Linked DNA regions of Homo sapiens: region 2 is linked to region 1. Evidence: promoter capture Hi-C in human tissues and cell types (Jung and others, 2019). All regions are on one chromosome and are shown on one strand. The core of a region is centred on a gene start or on the middle of the fragment in contact, and the rest is flanking DNA. Distances in the headings are between cores, read along the strand shown.

Region 1 (3,864 bases), core at 907-3,406:
GGTCAGGAGTTTGAAACCAGCCTGGCCAACAGGTGAAACCCTGTCTCTACTAAAAATACAAAAAAATTAGCCGGGCATGGTGGTGGGCCCCTGTAGTCCCAGCTACTCGGAAGGCTGAGGCACGAGAATCGCTTGAGCCCGGGAGGCAGAGGTTGCAGTGAGCTGAGATCACGCCACTGTACTCCCACCTGGGCGACAGAGGGAGACTCCAACTCAAAAAAAAAAAAAAAAAAAAAAAAAAGAAGTGTATATGACAATAGAGAAATCCTTATTTGGGTGCTGTTGTTTCTTTCCAGCACAAGTTCACAAAATAAGCTAGGGAAAATCCCCCCCGCCCGGGAAATGTCTTGGTTGATTTCCCGTTTGCTCTCTTAGAGCATTTTCAGACACCTGCTCTATCTTTCTGCCCAAAGATAGAGATGCTGGGTGGGTTTCTATGTTCTAGGGATAGAAGGCAAGGACTTGGTCACTGTAACACAGAACTGAGCTAGCCACTTGGGTGTCTGGTTGGCAAGTTGCCCTGGTAACTCCTTGTTTAAATTGTAAACTAGATAGACCTTCAAAGCTACAATTATGAAAGTGTACTAACAGCCACAGCCCAACAGAAATGAAAATGTACAAGCAAGTACATTTGCAATTTTTAATTAGCTTTTTTTTTTTTGAGATGAAGTCTCCCTCTGTCGCCAGGCTGGAGTGCAGTGGCGCGATCTCGACTCACAGCAACCTCCGTCTCCCGGGTTCAAGCGATTTTCCTGCCTCATCCTCCCGAGTAGCTGGGTCTACAGGCGCGCGCCACTATGCCCAGCTAATTTCTGTATTTTTAGCAGAGACGTTTCACCATGTTGGGCAGGATGGTCTCACCTCTTGATTTCGTGATCCGCTTGCCTCGGCCTCCCAAAGTGCTGGGATTACAAGCGTGAGCCACGGAGCCCGTCCAATTTTTAATTAACACTTTTTTAATACTTCTTTAATTATTGTTTAAACCAAGTTTTCCAGCCTCCTTCATTAGCCTGTTTGGTATTTGCATGCTTTGCTTGAATATTTTATCTCCAGCCCATTCCACACCGTTAGTCAACATTTTCATCTGACAGACGGAATCAAGGCCTAGGCCTCCCTTAAACAAAACATCCCTCCCAAAAGTACCACTTATAAAAATTGCTTGCCACAGACATTCTTGCTACAGACATTCTTTGCGGATCTTTGGCCAGTAACATGCATATACCCACACATAGTTTGCAAATAACAACTATTCAACGTGAAGTGCTACAAAAGTACGATGATAAAGTGCTCGCCGCTTGAAGAAAAGCACTAATAATTGTAACAAAGCCAAAACACACACACACACAACGAAAAAAAACGCACGGTAAGCCAAGAGCTCTTTAAAAATAAAAAATAATCATTCTCGGGAACAAATAAGGTAGGTACAAACTTGCCAGGTGACTCTGTTACGCTTAAAGGTTCTGGCTGTCAACAGTCCCCGGCGTGGTGGCGGCGGCACCCTCAGTCCCATCCGACTGAGGGCGTTGATGCGGGAGCCTCGGGGCTGCGGGACTGTTCGGGATAGGACGCGAGAGCACCTGGACAAAGGCCTGAGGCGGCTGTGCAGAACAGGGAGTGGCCCCGAGGCCCGGGTTTGTCTTCCCTTCCGGTCACCCCTCCCGGCCCAATGTCCCCAGGCCCCTGCTTACCCCGCTGGGCGCCGTATCCCTGCGCTCGGCGCCGCGCTCCGGAGCGAGTTGACAGCCGCGGCAGGCGAAGGCGCGGCAGAGAGGGGGGAGAAAGGTCTTCTTCCCCGCCCGCAAGACCACCATGGCCCCACGCCCCCTGGCTCCCGCGGCGCACGGCAGCATTGCGACGGCGCGAGGGGCCGCTTTACGGCAGGGTCGCGAAGCCCGAGGAAGCGCGGCGGCGCGGCCGACCGTGCGCTTTCCCAGCGGTGCGACGGGGTGAGGGGGCGGCGGGCGGCGCGGGCTGACCCGGGCGGCCGCTCCTTGGTCGCGGTCACTCCAGGCTGCCTCGCTGCGCCGCTGGCGGTGGGCGTGGCGCTGCCGGCGGCTAGGCGCGGACGCCGGAGGAGGTGTCCCCGGGTTTAGGGGTGTTCGGCCAGGGGCGGGGCTGCCGGGCCCGGGCGACTGCCGGAGCTGCGGAAGTCGTGGAAGCGTCGGCGACGCATCGCGCGATGGCGCGGGCGGGACAGGTGAGCGAAGCGCGGCTTGTAGCCTTTTCCCTCTCTCGGGGGGACGAGTGGGGCACCACCTCCGCGCGGGGCTCCCCGCTGGGCCACCCCTTCGCCAGCGCCCAGCCCCGTGCGGCCTGTCGGATCAGGCAGGGCAGAGTCGGTCTCGGCGCTGTCCCCGCCCCTGGGGTCGGAAGCGACCGGGGCTGGCCGGGCCTGGTCTCTGGTGTCTCCGGCCGGGCCTCGGTTCCCCTCCTCCCCCGGCTTCCCCCGGCCGGGCCGAGCTCCCCTCGCGCGCCCATTGTGAGGTCACGTCCTGCAGGCGCGCCCTGGCACCCGGGCCAAGACGCCCGGAGCGGCTGCTGCAGCCAGTAGCGGCCCCTTCACCGGCTGCCCCGCTCAGACCTAGTCGGGAGGGGTGCGAGGCATGCAGCTGGGGGCCCAGCTCCGGTGCCGCACCCCGTAAAGGGCTGATCTTCCACCTCGCCACCTCAGCCACGGGACGCCAAGACCGCATCCAATTCAGACTTCTTTTGGGTAAAGGGCCAAGAGGGAAGGGCGAGGCGGGGAGGAAGCAGCTCGGGCCGCCTTCCCTCCGTGGCCTCCAGGACATCCGCCGGGGATAGATTATGCGTTTCCATTGGTTACCCACCTTGAGCGAGCCGTTTGATAGAAACCAAGAGCTTGAAACGTGCATTAGGCCATTGTGGACTCCCAGTGGGAGGCGAGTGAATGAATTATTCATAGTTACCACGTTTTCGCGGGTTGTTTTTTTTTGAGAGAGTGGAGCATGTTGGGGGCTGAGGAGGTGTTGGGCCTCGAAAGCCCAAGGTGGTGCCCTTCAGCGCTGTCCCGGTCGCTCTTCTTTACCTGTGGGGTTTTAATCTCTTCAGGGAGACTTCTGTGAGGGAAGATGTGTGAGGAGCTAAAAGGGTGGGGAGGGGAAGTGCACAAAGGGATGGAGAGAAACGAAGAAGCGGGGACCTTGGGGATGTCTGAGAGCCACTGGTTTTTGTTCTGGTTCTTTCTTTTGCTTAGAGTTTCTGGAAACTAGGCATAGCTGTGTGGCGGGGCGGGGTACTGTTAGTGTTCGGAAGGTTACAAGAGCTACTGTTTCACCTTTCATAAAGGTGCCCTGCTGGTTCCAAATAGTTTGTGTCGCGTACGGTGACTCACACCTTAATCCCAGCACTTTGGGAGGCGGAGGCGGGCGGATCGTCTGAGACCAGCCTGGGCAATATAGTGAGACCTGTCTCTACTAAAAATAACATTAGCTGGGCGTAGTGGTGTACGACTGTAGACCCAGCTACTGGGGAGGCTGAGGTGGGATGACTGCTCAGAAGTATACCTTTTTAAAATGAGAATTTTAGAATGACTTAATATACCATTAGTGTTCTGCAGAAGCCTTGTGCTGTAGTAAGTTATCATTCTTGTCGTCTTTTAGTGCTTGTGAAACTGAACACAACAAAAGTATGGATATGGGAAACCAACATCCTTCTATTAGTAGGCTTCAGGAAATCCAAAAGGAAGTAAAAAGTGTAGAACAGCAAGTTATCGGCTTCAGTGGTCTGTCAGATGACAAGAATTACAAGAAACTGGAGAGGATTCTAACAAAACAGCTTTTTGAAATAGACTCTGTAGATACTGAAGGAAAAGGAGATATTCAGCAAGCTAGGAAGCGGGCAGCA
Region 2 (3,675 bases), core at 327-2,826, 1.5 Mb before region 1:
TTTCCCCATTTGTCTTTTCACTTTGACATGCATAAACTTTAAATTCTCAGGTAGTCACCTTTATCAAGTCCCATTTTCTTTTACCTGGGCAGTAACCTAATGGGATTTTCTACTTCCAGCCTTCCTGCCACCTCCTCCAAATCTATTACCAACAGTGATTCTTGGTGGTTGTGGTGCCTCATGCCTGTAATCCCAGAACTTTGGGAGGCCAAGGTAGGAGGATCACTTAAGGCCAGGAGTTGGAGACCAGCCTGTGTAACAAGACAATACCCTGTCTCTACAAAATTACCAAAAAAAAAAAAAAAGTTAGCTTGGTGTAGTGGCACACTTCTGTAGTCCCAGCTACTTGGGAGGCTGAGGCGTGAGAATCACTCGAGCACAAGAGTTCGAGGATACAGTGAGCCATAATCACGCCACTGTTGTCCAGCCTGGGCGAAAGAGACCCCCTTTTTTTTTTTTTTAAATAAGAACAGTGATTCTTTTCAAGCACAATTCAGATTCCAGTTCCTTCTCTGCTGACCATGCCAGTAGTCTCCATCCCACTCCCAGAATAGCCCAAAAGTCCCTCCACCCCTCACACTTAAAACTTTCCCACGAGATCACAGGGTTCTTTCTCACTGCACTGAGACGTGCTCCTGCCTCCTGCCCCTGCCTCGGGCTTTGCCCCAGCCATTCCTCTCCTGAATTCTCGTCCACTCTTCCTTTTGGTGCTTTAAGACGCTCCTTATCCTAGAGACCTATGTGAGCAGCGCCCCCACGTCACTCCCAGGTTTCCCGACAGCATTTCAGCATTTACCACCGACCTTGGCGCATCCGCACCTGCGGATTGATCTGAGGATTCCCCCCCAACTTCCAGCACTTGGCTCTCAGCTGCAGCCACGCCTGCCGGGCCTGCTGCAGGCGCTCAGGGTATTACTTAAGTCAATGATTGCAGGTTCTCGCATCCTATTTAAAACCTTTTCCACTAAGAGATTTAAAACACGTGTCCCCTGCTTTGAACTTTCACGTTACATTTCTTACGTGTAAACCTAGGAAGCCTTTGGAGATAACCCCGGTCTCTGGAGAGGCTTGGATAGACCTCGGAGCCCAGACCGCCCGGGAATTGCCGTGCCCGGCTCCTCCCGACCCCGGCACGGATGCCTCGGCGGAGAAGTTGAGCCAGGCAGAAGCGAGAGAGTCCAAACCTCTGTTTGCCCCGCCACGCCCGCCCGAGGGCCCCACGTGGGCCCCAGGCGCAGGCGCGTTCAGTTCAGGGCCAGACGCGCGGAGACCTGGGAGCTGGCGGGGCGGGGCCGGACTGGGCGCGGGGAGACCTGGGAGCCGGCGGGGCGTGGGCGTGGCGGGGCCGGGCGCAGGGGCGGGGGCGGGGCAACCGAGGGCGCGCGCGAGCCCCAACGGCCGTCGCCGCAGCGCGGGAAGACGCGCCACAGATGCCCCGCCCGCGTGGGTTTGAACAAGAGGCCCCGCCCCCGGCCCGCGAGTGGCCAATCAGCGGGCGTAGCGCGCGGAGAGCGCAGCGTCGACCCTTTGTGGACGCCGAGTGGCGGTCGCTCGCCCCGCCCCGCGCCGTCGGGCGCTCCTTCCTCAGCGGCGGGAAGCTGGCGGCAGCGGCGGTGGCGGTGGCTGAGCAGAGGACCCGGCGGGCGGCCTCGCGGGTCAGGTGAGCGGGCCCGGCGGACCGCTAGGGCGTCTACGGCGGCGTGCACTTTTGTGCTGCAGGGCGCGGAGGAGCCTGGGGGCGGTGCGCGGAGTCTGTGGCTCCTGGCGCTGGGTCCGGGGCGGAGGCGGCGCCCGGGACCACCGCTGGGGCTGCCGCGGCGCCCTCGCCGCCCTCCTGGGCGCTGGTTCCCCCGCGGGGTGGCCGCTGCTGAGGGGGCCCGGGGAACAGAGGGGCCCGGGCCGCCGTCTGCGTTCCTTGCGGAGCGCGGAGCTGGGGCTTTGCCGAGGCCTGCGGGCGGCCCCACGCGGGAGCCGCTTCACGAGGGCCCGGCTGGGGTACGCAGCGGCGTTTCCCGTACCTCGGCTCTAGTTGCAGCGGAGGGAACGCCAGGCGCGCCGCAGCCCCCTCTGTCGGAGCCCGGCCGCGGAGAGGGCCGCGGATGTGGGAGGAGGCCCAGACCCCGGGCGGGTCGGCCAGCGCCGTCTTCCCTGGGCTCCTCCGGCGGTGCGAGGTGGGACTAGGGAAAGTCCCCGAGACACTTGCAGAAGTCAGACGCAAGCCTCCCTCCGCGTCTTCAGACGCTTCTCGCCCCGCAAACAGGATCGTCGTGGCAAAGGCTCCGACAGCTTGCTGGAATAGAGGGTCTCCGCTGCCTCGCTTCTCCTGTGGCCTTCGTGTGGGACGCACGGGACGGCGGGACCCAGATAACCGTTCTCTCAAAGCGAGCCACAGAAAAACATTGCCTGTTCACAAAACTTACGTTTTATCAACTTTCTACGTACAACCACTCTATTTTCAAGTGTCACCGTGTTTTATAATTAGGGTGGAAATCCAGAATACAAAGTGAGTTACACCCCTTTTCTAGGAAGAGTAGTAGGCTGTATCTTGGAAAAGGGGCTAGGAAGTTTCCCTCAACTTGCCACTGGAACATGTTTTCAGGGAAAAGAAGGAGTGTGTTTCGTTCCAAGTAACAAAAGTACCTGCAATTGGCTGGGCGCGGTAGCTCACACCTCCCAGCACTTTGAGAGGAGGCCTAGGCGGGTGGATCTCCTGAGGTCCCGAGTTCGAGACTAGCTGGCCAACGTGGTGAAACCCCGTCTGTACTAAAAATACAAAAATTAGCTGGGCGTGATGGCGCATGCCTGTAATCATAATCCTAGCTATGTGGGAGGCTGAGGCAGGAGAATCGCTTGAACCAGAAAGGCAGAGGTCTCAGCCGAGATCGTGCCATTGCACTCCAGCCTGGGCGACAGAGCGAGACTCCGTCTCAAAAAACAAAAAAAACCAAATACCTGAAATTAACATAACAGTAATTGTTCATGAACAGCCTCCAGGAGACTTGTAGTGGAAGGTGGAGCTCCCACTCAGTACTCAAGACTGCAGACCTTGCTCCTCTTCTCCCTGTTTTTCCGATAAAGTATTTCAAAGCTTATCTGATGTGTGAGGAATGGAAATTGTTGATGATTTGCTTAAAAACCCGAAACTTTGAAGTGGCTGCAAGTCCAGCTGTGAAGGTGACAGGTTAGGTCAGAGTTGAGTCTGTCCCCAACCGTCCCAGCCCTACTGATCAGAATCTGGGAATCTGCGTTTTCAGCCAGCCTCGTGGTATTGCTCAGCCACGAAGGTGTGGCCACTGCTGCTGTAGTGAAGGACCAGTCCCCGAGCTGTACTCTGCTTGCCTGAGCAGCACTGCGGGGCTGCTCCCTGCTGGCCTCTGCCTCGGTGGGCCTAGGTTGCTCTGTCCCTAGTGGCCTGTTGGCTGTTCCACCTGCCATGTCGGACATGTCCTCAGTCCGTCTGGCCCTCTTCGTTTTTCTCTGTCTGGTCGGTGCTTGGTTTAGAAGCCTGAGGGCAGTGCTGGGAGTTGACTGAGGGCTTGGCTGTCCCGGTAACAACCTGTGGAGTTGGTGGGATTTTAGGCATTTAACTAGATGTGTAGAAAGAGCTTCAAAACTGAGCAGGGGGCCAGGCATGGTGGCTCACGCCTGTAATCCAGCACTTTGGGAGGCCGAGAT

The links. Contacts are between HindIII fragments. The study calls those that stand out against the background at their distance.
Region 2: the fragment with the promoter of CDCA4 here is called in contact with the fragment with the promoter of BAG5 in region 1 in 1 of the 25 tissues and cell types used here (small bowel).

The regions. Positions count from the first base shown.
Region 1 is chr14:103,560,949-103,564,812 of GRCh38, reverse strand. It overlaps BAG5 (BAG cochaperone 5), which reads left to right and starts at 2,156. Exons shown (of 2, transcript NM_001015048.3): 1 at 2,156-2,197; 2 at 3,621-3,864. The coding sequence starts at 3,649. It overlaps COA8 (cytochrome c oxidase assembly factor 8), which reads right to left and starts at 1,853. Exons shown (of 5, transcript NM_001370595.2): 1 at 1,689-1,853. The coding sequence starts at 1,811. RefSeq lists a silencer at 1,899-2,548 and enhancers at 2,889-2,938, 3,038-3,551. The HindIII fragment of the contact is 22,669 bases long and covers 1-3,864 here.
Region 2 is chr14:105,018,984-105,022,658 of GRCh38, reverse strand. It overlaps CDCA4 (cell division cycle associated 4), which reads left to right and starts at 1,576. Exons shown (of 2, transcript NM_017955.4): 1 at 1,576-1,660. RefSeq lists enhancers at 781-840, 856-1,369, 1,884-2,399, 2,851-3,511 and silencers at 1,141-1,210, 1,241-2,130, 2,141-2,230. The HindIII fragment of the contact is 13,458 bases long and covers 1-3,675 here.